3 separate regions of the Homo sapiens genome follow, and regions 1 and 2 are each linked to region 3. The links are contacts of gene promoters, found by promoter capture Hi-C in blood cells and fetal thymus (Javierre and others, 2016). All regions are on one chromosome and are shown on one strand. Each heading gives the region's core, a stretch centred on a gene start or on the middle of the fragment in contact. The rest is flanking DNA. Distances are from core to core; before and after follow the strand shown. Region 1 overlaps ERBB2 (erb-b2 receptor tyrosine kinase 2). Region 2 overlaps IKZF3 (IKAROS family zinc finger 3). Region 3 holds the start of GSDMB (gasdermin B).

The links. The method cuts DNA at HindIII sites, captures the fragments that hold promoters and counts their contacts. A CHiCAGO score of 5 or more calls a contact.
Region 1: a contact is called between a fragment that was not itself captured here and the fragment with the promoter of GSDMB in region 3, in 1 of 17 cell types (activated CD4 T cells). The highest score is 5.2, in activated CD4 T cells.
Region 2: a fragment that was not itself captured here is called in contact with the fragment with the promoter of GSDMB in region 3 in 4 of 17 cell types (activated CD4 T cells, naive CD8 T cells, megakaryocytes and 1 more); the score reaches 6.6 in activated CD4 T cells.

Annotation. Positions count from the first base shown.
Region 1 is chr17:39,704,324-39,709,027 of GRCh38, forward strand. ERBB2 (erb-b2 receptor tyrosine kinase 2) reads left to right here. Exons shown (of 27, transcript NM_004448.4): 2 at 2,667-2,818; 3 at 3,998-4,211. Among named protein-coding and RNA genes, the nearest start is that of ERBB2, 6.6 kb to the left of the region's middle. RefSeq lists an enhancer at 471-1,343. The HindIII fragment of the contact is 1,778 bases long and covers 716-2,493 here.
Region 2 is chr17:39,773,941-39,778,157 of GRCh38, forward strand. It overlaps IKZF3 (IKAROS family zinc finger 3), which reads right to left. Exons shown (of 8, transcript NM_012481.5): 7 at 3,711-3,827. Among named protein-coding and RNA genes, the nearest start is that of GRB7, 38 kb to the left of the region's middle. The HindIII fragment of the contact is 267 bases long and covers 2,100-2,366 here.
Region 3 is chr17:39,915,474-39,920,055 of GRCh38, forward strand. GSDMB (gasdermin B) reads right to left here and starts at 3,162. Exons shown (of 11, transcript NM_001165958.2): 1 at 3,061-3,162; 2 at 1,609-1,857. The coding sequence starts at 1,843. RefSeq lists an enhancer at 721-1,210, promoters at 1,762-2,391, 1,942-2,350, 3,074-3,436 and a cis regulatory region at 3,415-3,428. The HindIII fragment of the contact is 7,383 bases long and covers 2,850-4,582 here.

The DNA.
Region 1 (4,704 bases), core at 355-2,854, 210 kb before region 3:
CCAGCACTTTGGGAGGCCGAGACGGGCGGATCACAAGGTCAGCAGTTCAGGACCAGCCTGGCCAACATGGTGAAACCCGCCTCAACTAAAAATACAAAAATTAGCCAGGTGTGGTGTCAGGCACCCGTAATCCCAGCTACTGAGGAGGCTGAGGCAGGAGAATTGCTTGAACCCGGGAGGCAGAGGTTGCAGTGAGCCGAGATTGCGCCACTGCACTCCAGCCTGGCGACAGGGCGAGACTCCATCTCAAAAAAAGAAAACCAATGGGACAGGGCAGATATGGGGACAATGGTAAGGAGATGGGAGAGTGGGAGGGAGGTGTCAGGAAGACCTTCTTGACTTCATGTAGGCTGGTGGGGGTGTTAGCCAGCAAGCCTCCAGTTCCCTGGGAACCGTTCTCAGGGTACCAATTTTACCACCTGTCTGCAAACACTTTAAGATTCTTAATCAGACTCAAATTGGCCACAAATCAGGTAAACAAACTCACTAGTGGGGTGGGGCTACCACCCGTTCTGACCCTCCAGCCCAACCCAGCCCAGCCACCCTGCCCTCCGTAGAGCCTGTGGTGTTTATCGGTGGCATTGGGAGAATTAGTGTGTATTTATGTTGGCGTGGGGTGTGGGGTGGATTTGTGTGTGTGCAGTTAGGCCTAGTGGAAGGAATGTGGGATCTGAAGGCAGGCCAGCCTGAGTTCCAGTCCTGCCTGTTGCTCACAAGCTTTATGAGGCGAGAGCTAACCCCTGCCAGCCTCAGTTGTCTTCTTTGCAAGATGGAGGTTGCAGCCCCAGTCTCTGGAGCATGTTATGCAGATCCACCGAGAGTGCCTGCCAGGCACACAGTAGGTGCTCAGCTCAGTTACTGTGGCGGCCCCCACTCCCCATTGTTGTTGTTTTCCTATTGCCTGGCGGCCACAGCTGGTATCCCTTGAAAAGGGCTACAGGGGGTGGAGTCGGACCCTGCCCCAGCCCTGTGGAGACCCTGGGCTTGGGCCAGGGCCTGGGGTCTGGGCCTGCAGACAGCTGTGTCTATAAAGCAGCTGAAGGGCTGAGGCCGGGGGAGGTCCTGGCAGCAGGGCGTTATTTTGGGCCTGGCCTGCCACCCCCAGCTCCTGTTTCTCTTGGGAGTCTGTTGGGGGAGGAAGTGTGGGGAAGAGGAGGGGGTGCAAGTGGGTGAGGCATGGAGTGGGGAGGCCTCCCTCAGGGACATGGACCCTTGAGTTCTATTTCTGTTCCTCCCTCCTGTTCCTCCCTCTTTGTCCTTATCTGCCTAGAGAGGTGGGAATAGAGGCCATTCTGAGTATCACTAGGAGACCACCAGTTTGTGGCCACTGGCCACTGGCCCAGGCAGGGAACCTGGGGGCTTGCCCTACCAGCCTCTCCCAGCAATCTGAAGGCAGGGGGTACCTCGTATTACCCCCTAGGATTTGACCTTAGGCTCCAACTTGCTGGGAGAGCAGTGCCTCTGGTGTCAGACCCCAAGCCAGCCCTTGTGCTGTCCCTGAATCTGCATGTAGCCTGTGGGAGGCGGAGCAGTGACCGGCAGGAATTCTGGGCAGCTCAGGCACCTGTGGGCCTGAGGGTGCCCTCTGCCCCCACCCTTCCGATCTCCTGGGCAAGACACGCCAGGTGATTCATCTCACCAGAGCAGAAAAACAAGTTCAACTGGGCACTTTAATCTCCCCTCACTGGCAGGCCTGGTGTGAGCTGCTACCCCGGCGCCCCTCACCAGGGGTGCTTTACCTCCTCTAGTATTCCTGACCTTAGTGGGCATTTCTGGTCTCAGGGATACCAGGCTGGGGTCCAAGTGGGCCAGGTGTGGCAGTTCAGCCCTATGCCCCATGGCTGATGGCTCGCGCTGGGCAGGTATGCAGGGCTGACGTAGTGCCTTTGTGGCAGCAGTTTCGTGGCACACATTCTGCCAGCTGGTTCTGGAGTCTTGCCCTGAGGAGGTGGCCAGGGTGAGGGTGCCAGCGCAGGAACCTTTGGCGCATGCTTCACCCTGGCCTGGGATCTGCAGCCTGGGTCCAGATGCCCACAACTGGAATCTGACGCTCCTTTTCTCTTCATGGGGGACTCCCAGAGGTCTCTGCAATGACCAGAGCCCCGGTTGTCCCATGCCTCAGCTGCAACTCCAGCTGACCCTCCTTCCCCACTCTCTGGGTGGCATTACGGGGGTGTGGATCCCTTGCCAAGAGGTTGGCATGTGGGTGTGCTGGAATGGCATAGGGAGAATGCACCGAGTTTGTTTGCTTGGGAGAGGGGCAGGGGGTATCCAGAAGATTCATGATTCGTCATCGCCTCTCTTGGGGGATTTTTACCCCTTTGCCCTGAGTTGTGCCTTTGGGACAAAGGAAGCCTTTCTTTGCCAGCCAACACCCTGTACTGGCGGGCGAGCTCCCCAGGGCTGGCACGCTGGGGCAGCCTCTGAATGCACAGGGTGGGCCTAGTCAGAAGAAGCCTTTCCCCTGAAATCCCTCTACTTCCCAAGCACGCAAGCTTTCTCCTGCTGTTAAACCTGCAGTGTGCAAGGGACATGGGCGGAGGGGTCCTTCAGTCAGGCTTCTCCCTGTCTGAGGTGGCATGACTTGGAGTGAGTTTGGATGGGGTGGCCAGGTCTGAGAAGGTCCCCCGCCAGTGTCCTCTGACCCATCTGCTCTCTCCTGCCAGTGTGCACCGGCACAGACATGAAGCTGCGGCTCCCTGCCAGTCCCGAGACCCACCTGGACATGCTCCGCCACCTCTACCAGGGCTGCCAGGTGGTGCAGGGAAACCTGGAACTCACCTACCTGCCCACCAATGCCAGCCTGTCCTTCCTGCAGGTGAGGCCCGTGGGCAACCCAGCCAGGCCCTGCCTCCAGCTGGGCTGAGCCCTCTGTTTACAGGTGGGTGGCAGAAGAAGGTGCCCTGCCCTTCTGTTTCCTCTCTTGTTGTGGTTTCTCAACCAGGAAGTCCTTTCTAACATCTAACCCCCATTCATTTTACTGCAGAATCAGTTGACTCTCTCTATAACGTGGCTGGCCGAGGTCATGTCTGGATGGGATGCGTCTGTGTTTCCGCTAAATCTTGTGCTCTCTTGCCAGCATGATCATGTCCCCTGTCCACCTGCTCCAGCCACTATCCCTCTCCCACTTACAGCAGAAGAAAGGGCTGGTGAGAAAGGTGGATTACAGGCCCACTTCTGCCACTGACGAGCCCTATGAATGTGGCCTACACCCCCTTAGCTTCACTGGGTCTCAGTTTCCCTATCTGTATATTGGGAGCAGTTGTGAAGCTCAGAAGAGAAATGTCTGTGAAAAGGTTATGAACAGGAGGGAGAGTGGAAACCAACCTGCTGGATCGTGTCCACAGACCCTGGAATGGGGCCACATGCTTGGTTTGTCAAATTGCAGACGCCGGCCGGGTGCGATGGCTCATGCCTGTAATCCCAGCACTTTGGGAGGCCGAGGCGGACAGATCACTTGAGGTCGGGAGTTCGAGACCAGCCTGACCAACATGGAGAAACCCCGTCTCTACTGAAAATACAAAATTAGCCAGGCATGGTGGCACATGCCTATAATCCCAGCTACTTGGGAAGGCTGAGGCAGGAGAATCACTTGAACCTGGGAGACGGAGGTTGTGGTGAGCCTAGATCGTGCCATTGTACTCCAGCCTGGGCAACAAGAGTGAAACTCCGTCTCAAAAAAAAAAAATTTGCAGACGCCATCCCATCCAGGCCTTTGCTTTCACTGATGAAGAAACTGAGATACAGAGAGGGCAGGGCACCTGTTCGGAGTTTATGAAATGCCCCCCCACCATTATCTTTCTTGATCATATAAGAATCTGGTGAGGCAAGGTAGGGCGTGATCTTTATCTCTATTTTATCGTTTTATTTAAGCGGGAACAGGACTGCTCAGTGGCTGGGGGCCTTGCCCAAGATCTCCAAGTACTGGGGAACCCCAGGGAGGCCCTGGGGGGTGGCAGTGTTCCTATTTCAGCCCCACTCTGCTTCCCCCTCCCAGGATATCCAGGAGGTGCAGGGCTACGTGCTCATCGCTCACAACCAAGTGAGGCAGGTCCCACTGCAGAGGCTGCGGATTGTGCGAGGCACCCAGCTCTTTGAGGACAACTATGCCCTGGCCGTGCTAGACAATGGAGACCCGCTGAACAATACCACCCCTGTCACAGGGGCCTCCCCAGGAGGCCTGCGGGAGCTGCAGCTTCGAAGCCTCACAGGTGGCCTTCACCGTCATTGAAACCTTCTCTTGGTTATTCAGAGCTGACCAGGGCCACTGCTAACCAGGGGGAGGCTTTGTGTGCATTAGAAATGGTGTCCCTTCTGGGCAGACGCAGGCAGAGCCCGGGAAGACGCCCTCAGAAGATTGGAAAAAGATTCCCCTTCTTCCTGGGAAGTTGTAGCTTGCGTCAGCACATATAATTCAATCGTGAGAATGCAGGCTGGGTTTTTGCCCCCACTTGGCTGAGTGAAGTGTACAGTGAACAACCTATGTAACTATTTGCTGGCCCTGGAGCCGACTCTGCCCCAGAGTCTGGGTGCCAGGTGCTTTGCCCGCATGGCCCATTTCAGTCACGCTGCAGTCCTGTCAGGAAAAAATCAGTGTTATTCTCATTCTACATATGAGAAAACTGAGGCTTGCAGATATAAGGGCCAAAAGTTACACAGCTAGTGAGTGATGGGGCTGAGTTTCAGACTCCACAGTCTCTTAAC
Region 2 (4,217 bases), core at 983-3,482, 140 kb before region 3:
TGTCCATTTTTTTTTTTCCCATTTGAAACAAAGACATACAAAATTTCTTGGAGAATTAGAAAAAAAAATATTTTTCTCCAACTTGAGAGCATGTTTGTGTCTCAAAATACATTTAGACTTGATCCAATCTGTCCCTCTTCCCCAGTTCATCTCTAATGGATGCAAAATGCTCCCTACTGGTAATTATCGCCAGCCCGCCTGAGATAGCAGCGGGCTGACCTGATGGTCTATTTTCACCTTTACCCTCACAGTTCAAGAGGTCAGGGAAGTCAAGGCTGGTCTGAGTGCTGTGCAACTGTCAGCAAGGATTAAAGGGAATGACTCACTCTTCCTTCACACCTTACCCATTGCCATTACCCTGGCAGCTGAATCTTCAAAAAACAGTGCCTTGGAGAGGAAATATAGGAGAAAGGAGAGAAGAGGAGAAGAGAAGGGAGGAGAGGAGGGAAGAGGAGGGGAGGGAACAAGAGGACAAGAGAGGAGAGGTGAGGTGAGGCGAGGCAAGGCGAGGGGAGATGGAGAGAAAACAGTAGCCCCATGTTTTACATCACTTCATCTCATACACTGCACAGTGTCACAAATAATGTTCCTTTCTCCCTCCGTTGACATTACTATTTTCTATCACAAAGGTTGATTCAATTAAATAATTTAAGGGGTTTCTTTTATTTTTAATTTTTAAAAACCTTTCAAACAAAAGTTTAGGATATAAGTTAATGCAAGAAGATTAGAACAGTGCCCAAAACAAGAATACCATATATATGACAGGAACTCTTAACCTTCTGTATGATGAATGAATGGACAAAAAAGTGAGTGAACAAGTAGTACTGCCCTAAGTAAAACACATGAATGTCGGGCTAATGCGACTGTGTTTTAGATTCTCAGATTTATACCATCTTCCTAAAACAAAAAAGACTCTAAAAACCTAGGATATGGTTTATAGCATAAACACCACATCTGTATAGCCTTGAGAAAAAGGCTATCTGAAGTTACGCACATGGGCTTTCTAAACACACAGTGGTATCAATAATTGCTGCCTTTTATTTCTTTTCTAATTAATCTCACAGACTTGTACATGGGAGGAGACTTCCTGGTCACTTCATCACCTATTCAGTCTCCTCATTTCACAGATGAGTAAAGAGAGGCCCAGAAAGGTTCTGTGATTGGTCTAAACACACAGTTAAGAAATGACAGAGCTAGGATCAGAACCTGGGTCTTTTAGCTTCTAATCCAGTACTCTTCTTATTGCACTACAACACAACTTACGAAAAAAAAAAAAAATTCCCCCAGTTATTCTGGGCCCTGAAGCCCTGAAGTTGCTACCTCAATCAAGAGCTAACTCTACTAGGTTTCTGATTCCAGCACAGAGAGAATGTGATGGTTCAGAAGATGAGAGAAATCAACACCTACAAGATCAGCATCTCTCACAAGTCTGGAAGTAGTGAAGTGAAAATCCTCTGGTTGCAATTGTAGCAAACAAACGAAATAGATCCCCGAGGCAACAGGCAAAATGGCATGAATTTGCACATATGAAACATGCTATATTTTTGAACCCATGAAATACCAAAGCAACTTTTATTATATTAAGTAGGGCTTTAGTTCAACTATAGGTTTAGGGCAACCGAAAATACTAGGGACTGTCTCTCAAATTTTAGTTGTCTTACACCAAAATGCATTGACCACAACTGGATTGAAATTAAGTCACAGCTGGGCGCAGTGGCTCACGCCTGTAATCCCAGCACTTTGGGAGGCCAAGGCGGGTGGATCACCTGAGGTCGGGAGTTCAAGACCAGCCTGACCAACATGGAGAAACCCTGTCTCTACTAAAAATACAAAATTAGCCAGGCATGGTGGTGCATGCCTGTAATCCCAGCTACTCAGGAGGCTGAGGCAGGAAAATCGCTTGAACCCAGGAGGCAGAGGTTGCGGTGAGCCGAGATCGCGCCATTGCACCCCAGCCTGGGCGACAAGAGTGAAACTCTGTCTCAAAAAAAAAAAAAAAAGAAAGAAAGAAAGAAATGAAGTCGCTTTACATTTTTTTCTTGCCCAGCTCTCCCTATGATGTCCCTCCTCTTGTCGGCTTCAGCCATTTCTAGAGTCAAAGCTTTCTCCAGACCAGCCTGGGCAACATGAGGAGACTCTATCTCTACAAAAAGTTTAAAAATTAGCTGAGCCTGGTGGTGCGTGCCCATAGTTCCAGCTACTTGGGAGGCTGGGGTAGGAGGATTTCTTGAGCCCAGGTGTTTGAGGCTGTGATTGCACCACAGCACGCCAGCCTAGGCAGTACAGTGAGACCCCGTCTCAAAACAAACCAACAAACAAAACCCATAACTTTCTCCAAACTAAAATACACTCAGAATAATAAGGCAAGCTTTCTTTTGTACTCCAGTCAGAACCTCTTCACATAAGTAAAGCCCAAAAGATATATGGGAATATTTGTAGACAATGTCTTAAACTCACCATTTGTTTACTGTGCCTAAACTCTAAATGGAAGTCACTACATGCTCCCCTGACATGTCTCACCAAGGGGAGGGAGGACAGCAAGGAGGAGGGGATCTCCCTAAACTGAAATATACCAACTTTTCTCTGACACAATTTGTTCTTAAAGTGACTAAAAGTGCACAAAAACCTTTCAGCTAGTCAAAATAAAATAAGTAGGCAGAAATACCAAATTAGGTAATTTTGAAATATATGGGTTCTTTCAATATACCTCTATAATTCACATAGACTGTTTGCTTGTCAAAACATTATCTATACCAGAATCAAATTTAGTCAGATTTAAAAACCAGGCAGGCAACTTATTATCTGTAAGAGCTATTGAGAAGAATAAATACAAAAGGACTGAAATAAAAAATCAACAGCGGCAAGCAGCTTTGGAAAAAGAGGCTGAGACAGGTTTCTAAAATATTACTGATGTTGAGGGAGGTCTATTTTCATGTGATAACTATTTTTGTTCAATATCACCAACTTTCAATTTATAGCAAAACTGATACATTCAATTTCAGCTGTCTACTTCACAAATACAAATCTATTTCAAATATCATGGTCACATTTATGTAAACATCTGGGAGAGTTCAGCAAAATGTCTCTGCCATTTGGAAGTCCTAACACTTCAATGAACATAATTATTTCATACCCATCTCATTCTGCTGTATTTTTTGACAATGTGAAAACCAATGGCATAAAAATGAACTCCAGTAAGACAAATGATTAAATCAAACCTTGTTATTTAAATCTATGTTTGCCCAACCACTTTCCCTTAAAGCCAATTCTCAAATTCAAGAAAATATGGCAATATGTTTTAGAGCATGAAAAAAGTTTGAGCATGCTAACGAACCAACTTGTAAAATATAATTACAAAAGATTACAAAAATGCTATCTTGAACATCTTACTGGTATAAATTGCATAAACTCTCTCATGCAACATATGTCATTCAGAGTAAAGAGGAAGGAACAGGATTTTAAACATCACATCCATTTAGGAAATTGGATATCAACTACTCCCATCTCCTGTCATGATGATGCTTTAGTTAATATCTTTTATTCTATTTTCCAGAGCTATCAGAATGAACCATGAAGAATAAAAGTACACAATGAAAAACTAATTATTTTAACAGAGGTTAAGCTAGGAAAGGCCTTGTGTAGCAAGCATCCTATGTTATTTCATTCAAACTATCTGCTAACAACAGCAGGAAAAAGGTTTGTATTCTTACCAATGAATTTCTGAGGCATTGAGCTTTTTCGTTTTGCCACATTGCTTGCTAATCTGTCCAGTACGAGAGCTCTTTCACTTCCCATCTCTGCTTTGATGTGTCTTGCCTCCGCACTTGCTAGTTTGGAAAAATGTAAAAAGAAGAGAGAAAAGAACACATTGGTACATGGGGAGAAAAGGAAATAAACTGGAAGGAGAAGTGTCCGAAGTTGGATGCACACTCTATTGTTGTTACCTGTTATAACTGCTCAGATTCTTGCCTGGGGTACCTGCTGTGGTCAGTGAAGCCGACACCAGGGCACATTCAAATCTTGCAGTCTTATGCCGAGATGGGAAAGCTCGACCCATCCCCAACCAGTACCTTCATTAGCAAGAGGAAGTATTAAATAAACAGCCTGGACGTGGTTGGTTGCAAAAAGATAGATAGATGGAGATCTAACCCCCGATCAGCCTTCTTTCTGATTCTGAGTAACTGCGTGTGACACCTGCAGACTGATATAATTCTTAA
Region 3 (4,582 bases), core at 1,912-4,411:
AGTCAATTTTTTTTTCCCAGACTTAAACTTTGCCCTGTCCCTGGGGAGTAATATTATTGTGGCAAAACATCCTAGTTCTGGGTTAAAGTATTTTTCCATTTTCAGTGAATTGATCATTTGGCAAACTGATTTTTTTTTTTTTTTTTGAGAGCTGACTTTTAGCAAATTGGCTCTTAGCAATTTACTTTTCAGAGAATTGACTCAGTCTTTGAAAGATGCGAATCTGAAATTTCTCCAAAAGCCCCTTGCTTGCTTAACGAAACTCTGCTTGTGGAAAGGTCCACCACCTCCAAGTAATCTGGGTACTGCTCTTGGTCACTTAAAGCAGTTCCTGGCACACTGTAATACTCTAAAGCTGCTCAGGGCTGTTAGAGCTCTTTTCCGTCTCTTGGCATGAGACCTCATAAAAAGAAATGGACTGTATCAGAGAGGTCTGAGCTATGAGCGCCTTGCTATTGTTCATATTATGAAATATTTTTTCACATTATGAAATATAATGAACTCCTCACCATATTCCACTTTGGGCTCCAAGTGAGAGTTCAACACTTAACCCTGGGGCTTCTGAAACCCAAGTACCCCAGGAATAACTGAGATCAGAGGCAGGGGGTTGGAATAATTGACTCTTCCATAAATTCCCTCAATACCTTAGGGATTTCTGCTCATCAGAAACTTCCCCTTCAGTCTTGATAGCCAAGGAACATGAAAGGATAATAAGAATCACCACCGACCTGGGAGATAACTTTTATTGGGTGCTCCTTTTGTGGCAGGCACTGTGATAAATGATTCACGTAATTTGTTCTCATTTGATTTTTTTTTTTTTTTTTTTTGAGACAGAGGCTTGCTTTGTCTCCCAGGCTGGAGTGCAGTGGCGTGATCTCAGCTCACGGCAACCTGCACCTCCCGGGTTCAAGCAATTCTCTTGCCTCAGCCTCCTGAGTAGCCAGGACTACAGGCGCATGCCACCACGCCTGGCTAATTTTTTGTATTTTTTTTTTTTAAGCAGAGACGGGGTTTCACTGTGTTAGCCAGGATGGTCTCGATCTCCTGACCTCGTGATCCGCCCACCTCGGCCTCCCAAAGTGCTGGGATTACAGGAGTGAGCCACCGCACCCATCCCTCACTTGATTCTTACAACAGTCCTCTAGAGTTGACACAGGAGGAAACTGAAACTTAGAGCAATAAAACAACTTGTCCAAAGGTTACGCAGCTGATAAGAGGCAGAGCCAGGCTTTGAAACCAGGTGCTTCCAGCCCTAAAGCCTGCATCCTTTCTTAACCAGTAAGCAAACTGCCCTCATTTACTTATTCATTTAAATGATAAACACATGAGAAGAGCTCGCTAAATTAAAAGCAGATTATTTTACAAGGGAAAAAATGGAAAAGGAAGACCATTTAGGAACGGTTTCCAGTGGAAATAAATCTCCACTTCTCCCACTCTCCTCCCACCATGCAGCTCTTCCGTGCATTTCTTAAATTAAGGTGTGTGGATGTGTACAAATCCCACAGTTTCGTTGTTGATTGGTTGATAACAATGGGGAATTGAGAAGGAGATGGAGTACAAACGGTCAAGGCCTCCTGGCTGGCCACCTGTCATCTACCTTATACTGACCTTGGAGCCCAGAATCCAGTTCATCTAACCACTTGTCCCCATCTGTGTCCAGAATGTCCATCAGGGTGAGGCCTGTTGTGTAGTGCCGGCATCCAAAGAAAGTTCTCTTCTCCCCCACCAGATGGAAGCAGCGGAATCTATCAGCATCAACAAGGCTTCTAACGGCAATCATATCCCCTCCAGCATCCATCTCCTTAACTACAATTCTTGTGATTTCCTCAAATACGCTGAACATTGCGCCTGGACCAACTCAGAAACAGAAGCCAATTTCAGTTTTTGGGAGGAGGGTATTGGTTCAAGTATTTAAATCTTCCACATTTGGCAGCCTGAGGTGTCAGGCCTCTGAACCCAAGCTAAGCCATCATATTCCCTGTGACCTGCATGTATACATCCAGATGGCCTGAAGCAACTGAAGATCCACAAAAGAAATGAAAATAGCCTTAACTGATGACATTCCACCATTGTGATTTGTTCCTGCCCCACCCTGATACAATATAGTCTCCCCGCCGCCGCCCTTAAGAAGGTACTTTGTAATATTCTCCCCTGCCCTTAAGAAGGTACTTTGTAATATTTCTCCACCCTTGAGAATGTACTTTGTAAGCCTATCCCAAACATATAAGAACTAATGATAATGCCACCACCCTTTGCTGACCCCTTTTTTGGACTCAGCTTGCCTGCACCCAGCCTTGTTGCTCATATAAAGCCCGTTTCGTGGACTCTCTTCACATGGACGCACGTGACATGAGGTCAAGGAAGAGCCAAAGGTTCCAGGACAATCAGTACCTGGAATGATTTGCCTGCCTTACTTCTAGAACGTGAGGCAGCCATGACTCAGTAAAGAGGGCTAAACATCACAGATCCCAGATTCTCCTCTGCCCCTCATGGTACCCATCTGGAGGAAAAAAGTAGCAGCTATTGCCCCAAATAGAGAAAGTGAGACCCATTTTCTACATCTCCCACAGCAGAGTTGCCCCCTTGTTCCAAGGGGCCCAAGGGATGGAAAGGCAGGCCCACCATGCCCCAGCCAGACTAGCCCCAACGTTGATGAACAGAGGAACCAGGGAGGAATGACGGGCACGGTTGCCAGACTTCACATTACTAACCTCAACTGGTCGTTTCTTCCCTTGGCTCTGATTCTTGGGCTCCCTGCCTTGCTGTATTCTGCAAGGCAATTGGATGGGTGCCTCCCTACCAACAATTTCCCAATGAGGTGGTGGTAAATTGGCCTCAGAAGAAACAAAAGCTTCCTGGGATCCACTTCCCCATCCTACCTTTGGCCACCTTCCCCTATATCCCTTCTGCCCAGCACAGGCACTTATCCACTCACTGCTTCCTCCTCTGTCTCTGGCCCCATCATGGTGGTTGACTCTCAGTTCACTACCAACCTGGGAATTCTAGGTGTCTGGAAAGACAGTACCCGGGAACCACAGGCCCATCTCAAGTGGTACCCACCTCCTCTCTGACCTCAGCTGTTCACCAGAAATGGAAGTTGTGAGAATCCCCACAGATCTCTGCACAGTTCCTGGCCTCTGAATCTCAGGAAGCTAAAATAATGAAACTGAAAGTTGTCCAGGTGTGGAACTTCCTGGACGGGTGGGTAGGGCTGGGTGCCCCACCTCCCAAGCCTTTAGATAAGCCACCTTATAACTGAGCTGGAGGCAGATTAAGGCCAGAACCCCCCTTTTTTTTTTTTTTTTGAGACGGAGTCTTGCTCTATCGCCGAGGCTGGAGTGCAATGGCGCAATCTCGGCTCACTGCAAGCTCCGCCTCCCAAGTTCACGCCATTCTCCTGCCTCAGCCTCCCGAGTAGCTGGGACTACAGGTGCCTGCCACCACGCCCAGCTAATTTTTTTGTGTGTGTTTTTTAGTAGAGACGGGGTTTCACCGTGTTAGCCAGGATGGTCTCAATCTCCTGACCTTGTGACCCACCCACCTCGGCCTCTCAAAGTGCTGGGATTACAGGTGTGAGCCACCATGCCCGGCCAGAACCCCTTCTTCTTCTTGTACCTAAGGAGTGGGTAGGAGATCCTGGTATGTATTCTAGGTGAGTGTGGGCCAGACAATGGTGCACACCGTGGCGCCCTGGGCCATGCAATCCAGTGTGTTTGGAATAGAGAAATGGAATATGAGTAGGTATCAAGTGCCAGCAGGCAATGGCTGTGTCTGTGCCAGGGACATGAGGACCATAACCCAGCAGAACCAGCTGCCCAAATGCCATGCGACGGTCAACACTGAAGACCCAGGACAACAGCAGCTAACACCTGGAGGCAACAGGGTGGGCCTGTAAGGAGCACTCAGCCTCCCTCCCCATCTCGTGCTCCCGTGTACACTCTCAAGGAGATGCTGGTCTTCCTTATCTGGATGCCATCTGGCTTCTCCACCTACCTCCTTCTCCAGGGAGAGGCCTCTGACCTCACCCATGTCCTCTCTCAGAGATAACCACCCCGGTGAGCCCAGCCTGTCTTCCAGCCTCTGCATGCCTCAGTTCTGAAAGAACATTTGAAGGGATGACAGGCCAGGCGTGGTGGTTCATGCCTGTAATCCCAACACTTTCAGAGGCCGAAGCAGGCAGATCACTTGAGGCCAGGAGTTCAAGACCAGCCTGGCCAACATGGCGAAACCCCGTCTCTACCAAAAAAAAAAAAAAAAAAAAAATTAGCCAGATGTTTTGGCACACACCTGTAATCCCAGCTACTCAGGAGGCTGAGGCATGAGAATTGCTTGAACCTGGGAGGCGGAGGTTGCAGTGAGCCAAGATGGTGCCACTGCACTCCAGCCTGGGCAACAGAGCAAGACTCAGTCTCAAAAAAATAAATAAATAAATAAATAAATAGACGACAGTGGTGGTAGTAACAATTACAATTATAATAATATGGCTACCATATATTGAGTATTTACTATATGCCAGGCACTGTGCTAATGCTCACAACAGCCCTAAGAGGCATTATCTTTACACAACAGTGGAATAAACTGA